Regions from separate parts of the Homo sapiens genome. Here regions 1 and 3 are each linked to region 2. Evidence: promoter capture Hi-C in 16 types of primary human blood cells and fetal thymus (Javierre and others, 2016). All regions are on one chromosome and are shown on one strand. The core of a region is centred on a gene start or on the middle of the fragment in contact, and the rest is flanking DNA. Distances in the headings are between cores, read along the strand shown. Region 1 overlaps CSGALNACT2 (chondroitin sulfate N-acetylgalactosaminyltransferase 2). Region 2 holds the start of ARL5B (ARF like GTPase 5B). Region 3 overlaps IPMK (inositol polyphosphate multikinase).

Region 1 (2,700 bases), core at 185-2,684, about 24 Mb after region 2:
CCCGGCCTCGCCCGCCGGTCCGCGACTCCCGCCGGCTCCGGCCCGGGCGGTGCGGGCGCCGGGGCTGCGGGCTCCTGTGTGGTCGGGTGGGGTCGCCTAGCGGACCGGTCCTGCGGGGGGCCCTGTCTCTCAGGGATGAGCCTGCCGGAGTCGGCACCGGTTTTAGGGAAAGCGCGGCCAGAGACGATTGGTTCGCTTGTCAGTGTTGGGTTTTGTTTTGTTTCGTTTTGTTTTTACCTATTCATCACCATCTCTGCTCCTCTCAGTGGATAAACTTTTTAATCAGTGGTGACCTCGTCATCGCGTTAAAATAGTTCTGCCCTCAGCCCCTCTTTATCTGTAGATGGCAGAGCGAGCGCCGGTAAAGATGCTCTGTCGTGGAGGGCTCAGTGGGGCGGAGGAGATGGGGAGCCTCTGGCGTTGTCGGAGAATGCACCTTAAAAATGACTCTACCCTTGAGCAACGCAGGAAGCACGACAGTGATACTTCTGTTTGTGATGATGGTATTGGCGGTATGATAGTTTGATTATACATCTGAAGCTTCTCTTCCTGAGTCCTTGGCTTGTTAAACTTGGAGGTATTTTCTAGCGTGCTTTTGAGATAGATATGGGATGTCGTGACGTTTCACCGTCATTCAAGGCTCGCGGGAGCAGGGCCTTCATGTCTGGTAATTAATGTTGTTTTTTGAATGTTGTATTAAAATAGTAGCTTCGATCTTGGAAGTAAGAAGCCAAGTATTTTAGGACTGAGTGTTAGCGTTCATTTTGTATTATTGTTCTTGTACCATTTGTTTAAAGTTGTCATGTAACTAAAAGAATGAAAAAAGATGGATTTCCAGTATTTGTGGCTCAGAGGATTTTGGCCTAAATAAACACAGTTCCAACCAGTTTAGAAGCTGCATTTTTCTCTTTGTTTTTGTCGAGGCATAAAATACATATGAAATCAATAAGAGCACGAATCTTAATTGTACAGCTCAATGAATTTTTACATACTTATTACCCTGTGGAACCACCAGATATATCAAATTATAACCATAGAACATTTCCATCATCCTATTTTCCTGTGCTTCTTCCAAGTCAGTTATATCCTTGTTTTCCCATCTGTATTCTAACTTCTCTTATCTGCTTTTAGTTTTCTCTGTTTTGAGCTTCATGTTAATGGAATCACGTAGTATTCTCAGCATATTGTTTGTGGGACACACCCATGCTATTTCATGGTATTGTATTATTACTGTGTAATAGTCTATTGAATAATATGTGACTACTCTTCAGTTGATGGACATTTATGTTCCCAATTTTTGTATATGATGTGTTTTGGATATTAAGAATACTGTGGGCCTGGCGTGGTGGCTCAGGCCTTTTATCCCAGCGCTTGGGGAGGCCGAGGCAGGTGGATCACTTGGTCAGGAGTTCGAGACCAGCCTGGCAAACATGGTGAAACCGCATCTCTACTAAAAATACAAAAATTAGCCAGGCGTGGTGGCGGGCGCCTGTAAGCCCAGCTACTTGGGAGGCTGAGGCGGGAGGTGGAGGTTGCAGTGAGCCGAGATCGTGCCACTGCACTCCAGCCTGGACGACAGAGCCTGACTCGGTCTCAAAAAGAAAAGAAAAAAAAAAGAGTACTGTGGACATTCTTGTAAATTAAATGTCTTGGTGAGCATCTGTATGCATTTCTGTCAGCTATAGAATGACTGAGTCATGGCATAAGCAGAAAATTACCAACATGGAGTCATTACCAACCATACCATTACCAACCAAAGGCAGAAAATTTAACCAACATGGAGTCATCTTTTTTTTAATGTAATAGAATTTGTTATTTTAACTAATATAACATTCAAGGTTGGTTTTAAAAAAGCATAACTATTATGAGTTCAAGACGTAAGTGATTCATTCATTACCATGTTATTATTTACCCTTTGAATTGCACATTTATGACTGTCTTCTGTCGGACTGTCATTGTTTGTTTAACTGTTAGACAAGTCTGTTAGAGCTGGTGAGGATCTGACTCTGAAGTTTAGCATAACATTTACTTAAGAACTGTATTACTCAAGTTAGTGGTTTTTTAGAGGAAATGAAATACCAAAAGGATATGACTGAAAGTGGATTGAAGAATCACGGGACTGCAAGTCAAAGAACTTACATTGTTATTGTCATGCTACACAAGCACTAGGTATAAGTGTAAAATTGAATTATAGGGCTAGTTACAAATGTGAATTCACAGCAGGAGTACAGTGATTTTCATATGGACTGAGATACTACTAGCACATTTATAATGTGAACACACAACAAAAATCACTAAACATTTGTGGGAAATCGGTAGCATCTAAGAGAAGCTTCAGACCAAACAAATACAGAACTAGGCACTGAAGCAGTGGAGCTAATGTAAGACAAAAGAAAGCTTTAAAGTAAGTATTAGTATCTTCAAATTTGTTAAGGTATTATGCCTACTGAACACATACAGGCTGCCATGAAAAAAAGCAATTGATTCTTGAATATTTAAACATGGAAAGTAGGAAAGGGCCAGGTGTGGTGGCTCATGCCTGTAATTCCAACACTTTGGAAGGCCGAGGCAGGAGGATCTCTGGATTCCAGGAGTTTGAGAGCAGCCTAGGCAACATAATGAGACCCTGTCTCTACAAATAATTTTTTTTTTTTTTGAGACGGAGTCTGGCTCTGTTGCCCAGGCTGGAGTGCAGTGGCG
Region 2 (2,713 bases), core at 214-2,713:
AAATCCGAAAGCCAGAAAAAAAAAAAAAAAGCAGAATGTGGTTTACATCCATGTCTAACAATTGAAGAAGCTGTTACGGAATCTAAAGTTTGTTTTGTGATAATGAAGCTAGGACTAAAAATGTCCTTTTAAGCCATTACTTACACAAACACAAAATTATTCACATTTATGGTCCAACTGATAGTCATGAAAGTTAAGTTTGCATAGGGTCAGTACATTCTTTTTCCTCTACATAGGAGGTTGAAACTTGCCTTTAATGTTGTAACGTTGGAGCATATTATCCTGCATCTAAGTCTTAAAGGGTCTTTAAACCATAGCACTGGGAGGACGTAAGTCATACATTCTCCTTGTACAGGTTAACTCAAGAGTTTGGCATGTTAAAAGGCCACGTTGCCAAGGTTAAAATCCAACCATCTGACTGAAGTCAGAGTCTAAAAAAATTTTAAGCTTGCTCCTCCGTCAACTGGTTTCAAGGACATTCAGTTTCGTTTCATGCCAGGCTGTGAAGCTTTTCTTTTCAATGCTAGAACCTAACCATGGAAAGTGGAATTGAAAACAATTACACAGCGAATTGGCTTATGCGTGGACTTCGATCTGGGATCCACGAACATACCTAATGCTTGGCAAAATGGAGAGGGGTGCTATGTGTTATTATTATGTGTTATTATTAATCACATAACTGAACTCTGTGGCTCCAGGCCTTCCATGGCTCGTCTCCCAATCAATTCTTTTCAGAACTAAGAATCACGACAGGGGCCGGGCGCGGTGGCTGAGCCTGCAATCCCACCACTTTGGGAAGTCGAGGCAGGAAGATCGCTTGAGCCCAGGAAATTGAGTCCCCCTGGGCAACACAGCCCGACCTCGTCTGCAATCGATCAATCAATCAATGAGTACATAAATGCATAAGCCAATGAATGAATACGTGAATGAATAGATTAATAAATGAATGAAGAAGAATCACGGCAGAACTCCTAACCCCTAGCACGCCTGCCTAGGGGAACAGGAATAAGTCAGGAAAGAAACACTCTTCACTTCTGTGAGTTTTCTAAGAGCAGCAAACGGCGGCTGCTCACTTAGAGAACCTATGGTCTTTCCTGGTTTTAGAGGTCAGGGAAGCAGCTGCTAGCAGCAGAGACTCAAATCAAAGGGGAGTCCCACAAACGTTTTGAAGGCTGACATCAGAAGGAGCACGCACCAAGGGAAATTTCCCACCCCCCCGCGATACCGCAAATTCCCAGCCGCTGGCCGTTTGGGACTCTCCTACCGGAAGTGAAACCGAAGAAAACGCCACGTCGAAGGCGTGGGTTGCCGTAAGTGCGCCGTCGTCACGCGCCTAGCTTCCGGCGATGGGTGGTCCTGGGATCCGGAGGGGAGGCGGGGTGGAGGCGGGGCTTGGGGCTGTGGAGAGGCTGTGGTAGGTAGGTGGGTACAGACCGAGGGGACTACGGGTCGGCGTTGGGCTCAGTGGGCTCGAAACAAAGGGCTGTCCGGTGGGGATTCGTCGCGGCGCCTTCTGAGTGGTCGGGTCGAGGCTTCTCGGCCTAGCAGTGCCCTCGCTGCGCGATCTCAGGCGGGTTCTCCTCGGCTCCGCGCAGCCCGCGCCGCGGTGGGGGACCCGGCGCAGCGGCACCTGCTGCCGAGGGACCCCGCGGCCCGCCCCGGTGCTCGTGATGGGGCTGATCTTCGCCAAACTGTGGAGCCTCTTCTGTAACCAAGGTGAGAAGAATGGAGCTGCGCGGCGGCTCGAATCCGAGGCAGAGGGTCCCGCCGCCGATGGGGACACCGGAGACAGGGGACAGAGCGTTCGGAGACGCGGAGGAGGAAGGGACTTAGGCCAGGGGGCGGGCAGAAACTCAGTGTTTTAGACCTGGAGGACGTACAGGAGAGACCTGACGTGTGGGAGAAATAGGGAGGCAGAAGAGAAGGTATTTGGCGTCCCAGAATCCAAACTGAGAATGTTTGGATATTGGCGAAGTAAAGCGGGATACAGCTAATGATGCCAGGAGGCGTATGGAGGGCCTTTCTCGTCTTTATTGAAGCGTGCTTGTGTCTATGTGTATCCCCAGGATAAGTGTCCGCCCAGAAACCTAGAACTTTTTTTTTTTTGAGTAATGTAGGTGCTTTGTTTTCCCGCCCTGCAGTTTGAGCCGTAAGCCAGTGCACTTTCACTCTGATTTCGCCTCCTTTCCTCTAGGACTTGGGAATGAGTTGTCCTATTCAGATGCACGAGTTTTCCAGCATCTTCATTGTAAACTTTTTTTTTTAAAGCATTTAGTTCAGAAACTAAATGCTTTTCGGTTTTGTGTAAGACGTTACGTGTCCGTAATTAGTCTGTAACAGGTAATGAGACACCTGGAAGTGGCAGGTCCAAAGGGCCGAGAAGTTGCAAAACCTGTTCTGAATCAGAATGAGATGTGATGTCTTCTGAAGAGAGAAAACACCCAGACCAAAAAAGGGGCCGACGATAAGTTAAAGTTTGAGGCGTCCTTTGAACAGAATGGTTTCTTAGTAATTGAAACCAGTTTTGAAAATCAACTCGTTTCATTTTACATTTAAGAGCCGGGCATCGTTAATAAGCCAGTTTTATTTCCTTTTATGTTGGTACCAATTTGTTACTGCTAATGTAGGTATCTAATCTTTTTCTGGATTTAAGAAGTTGTGGAGGTAATGGAATGGCTTTAGTTGACTTGTTCTGTAGATTGATAAGAACACT
Region 3 (2,701 bases), core at 132-2,631, about 40 Mb after region 2:
GCATGTTCTCACTCATAGGTGGGAACTGAACAACGAGAACACTTGGACACAGGGCAGGGAACATCACACACCGGGGCCTGTCGTGGGGTTGGGGGGATGGGGGAGGGATAGCATTAGGAGAAATACCTAATGTAAATGACTAGTTAACGAGTGCAGCAAACCAACACTGCACATGTATACATATGTAACAAACCTGCACGTTGTGCACATGTACCCCAGAACTTAAAGTATAATAAATAAATAAAAAAATCTCATCCTGAATTCTTTATTCTAGGCTTGTTTTCTGAAGTAGTATGGGTGTAGAAATTCTGAAAATTGTAAGATTAAGCAAAAGAATAAACATATTAATATCACTGGGAGCCAGGGTTCTTACTACAGAAGAAGGGAAATACAAATTTAGAATCAAGGGAAAGGAAGAACTCGGGTTTAAATGAAATTTGAAATATGAAATTATAATTTCTAAAATATTTATACATACTTTAAAAATCATGTCCATTGAAAAGTCCTGGAAGAAATGATACTCCAACAGTTATGACAATACCTAGTAACACAGATCTTGGTTTCTAAATACCATTTTCCACTAAAAAGAAACCAGGGCTCCTTGAAGAAATGGTTGACTCTAGGGCTGGGGAAGAAAGTTATGAGATAATTCTAAAAAATCTGTTATGACAGAAAGGAAGTGCTCTCAATGGTCAAATTTGGGACCATTTGAGCAACAAAATAAATAAGTTCCTTTTTTAAAAACATTGAGATGTGATTAAAGTCCAATAAATAAGTTCCATAATGGGTAATGATACATGTTATCAAATAGGAATCCATGATGCAAACTGATTATAAATAAGGACATAAATACTTAAGGGTAAAGGAAGAGCTATTTCTTGGAATGCTAGCTGTTAAAGCAGAGGGAGTGAAAGAATGGGGGGAAAAAATCACAATTTTGTAACTATCAGAATAAACACAGCTTCAGGCAAGAATCAACAGATGCCAAATCTAGGGATGAAGTTGATGAGAATCCAGATAGCTGCATGACTGTAAAGTGTCTCCTCACATATAGCTTATTAAATGTAGAACAGAAAACATTAACTATATACTGAAGCCAGGCATGGTGACTCATTCCTGTAATCCTAGCACTTTGGGAGGCTGAAGCAGAAGGATCACTTGAAGCCAGTAGTTCAAGACCAGCCTGGGCAACAAAGCCAGATCCCATCTCTACAAAAAATTTTAAAATTAGCCTGGCCCAGCAGTGGTTCATGCCTGTAATCCCAGCACTTTGGCAGGCAGAGGTGGGTGGATCACCTGAGGCCAGGAGCTCAAGACCAGCCTGGCCAACATGGCAAAACCCCGTCTCTACTAAAAATACAAAAATTAGCCAGGCATGGTGGTGCACTCCTGTAATCCTAGCTACTTAAGAGGCTGAGGCACGAGAATCACTTGAACCTGGGAGGCGGAGGTTGCAGTGAGTCAAGACCGCGCCACTGTTCTCCAGCCTGGGCAACAGAGCAAGACTCCGTTAAAAAAAAAAAAAATTAGCCTGGCCTAGTGGTGTGCACCTATACTCCCGGCTACTCAGGAGGCTGAGGCAGGAGGATTGCTTGAGCCCTGAAGTTTGAGGCTGCAGTGAACTACATCACGCCACTGCACTCCAGCCTAGGTGACACAGCAAGAGCCTGTCTCAAAAAACAAACAAACAAAACGATATACTGAAGAAGCCAGACTACACTTGAATCAGACAACCAGAAATAATCCACTACCAAAGGGCAGCTATTGTTGGCCTCCACTTACACAATGTTCCAGCTGGAAAAGTATCATCTGAATCCCATCGTAAGGAACTATCAGAAACCCAAATTAAAGAACATTTCATAAAATAACTGGCCTGTACTCTTCAAAATGACAATGTCATAAAGGACAGGGAAAGGCTGAGGATATGTTACAAATGAAAGGACACTAAAAGACATAACAACTAATTGCAATAAATGATTCTGGACCAGATCCTGTACTGAGAAAAACAAATGTGATAAAAGACATTACAGTATTGGAACAGTTGACAAAGTGAGACTATGGACTATAGATTAAAGTATTATATCCCTGTTAAATTTCCCATAGTTGATCAATGTGCTGTGGCTACAGAAGAGAATATCCTTGTTCTTAAGGAAGACACACTTTAGTATTAACATGTAAAGTGGCATAATGTATGCAACCTACTTGCAAATAGTTAAGAAAAATTATTTGCATTGAGAGATAATAAAACAAATTTTGCAAAATGTTACTTTTCTATTGTTCTTGCAACTTTTCTGTAGGCTTGAAATTATTTTAGGTTAATTAGTTTCAGAGGATATCTAATAAAAAGAGACTACTAAGCCAAGATAATTGTAGGTCTTTCTCCCCCACAACAATTATCAGTTTAAATCCTTGTTTTCCCTATAGACTACCCCATTTCTACATCCTACATCAGATCAAGAAATATCAGATTTCCATCATTTGTTTAAAACTTTAAGGACTTTTTAAAGAACTTAATGATACATATTAAAAGAATTTTATGCTAACTTTGGTGAGTTTTGGGAATTTATATTGATCTTTTTTTTGCGAAAACTTCCTACAGAGATAGGTACACAACGTGCAAGGTATGCTATTATATACAAGAATGTTTAATAAGTACATTACTTATCACAGCAAACAAATGGTGAAAAGTCTAAAAATCTAT

Evidence for each region. The method cuts DNA at HindIII sites, captures the fragments that hold promoters and counts their contacts. A CHiCAGO score of 5 or more calls a contact.
Region 1: a contact is called between a fragment that was not itself captured here and the fragment with the promoter of ARL5B in region 2, in 1 of 17 cell types (total B cells). The highest score is 7.9, in total B cells.
Region 3: a contact is called between a fragment that was not itself captured here and the fragment with the promoter of ARL5B in region 2, in 2 of 17 cell types (total B cells and total CD4 T cells). The highest score is 9.9, in total B cells.

The regions. Positions count from the first base shown.
Region 1 is chr10:43,138,580-43,141,279 of GRCh38, forward strand. All of the region lies in intron 1 of CSGALNACT2 (chondroitin sulfate N-acetylgalactosaminyltransferase 2), which reads left to right. Among named protein-coding and RNA genes, the nearest start is that of CSGALNACT2, 1.5 kb to the left of the region's middle. RefSeq lists silencers at 1-222, 333-402. The HindIII fragment of the contact is 1,792 bases long and covers 539-2,330 here.
Region 2 is chr10:18,657,968-18,660,680 of GRCh38, forward strand. ARL5B (ARF like GTPase 5B) reads left to right here and starts at 1,464. Exons shown (of 6, transcript NM_178815.5): 1 at 1,464-1,716. The coding sequence starts at 1,671. It also overlaps a transcript of NSUN6 not described here. RefSeq lists enhancers at 293-412, 1,113-1,242 and a silencer at 1,553-1,632. The HindIII fragment of the contact is 6,724 bases long and covers 507-2,713 here.
Region 3 is chr10:58,262,010-58,264,710 of GRCh38, forward strand. The region is part of intron 1 of IPMK (inositol polyphosphate multikinase); the gene reads right to left. Among named protein-coding and RNA genes, the nearest start is that of IPMK, 4.5 kb to the right of the region's middle. The HindIII fragment of the contact is 3,933 bases long and covers 1-2,701 here.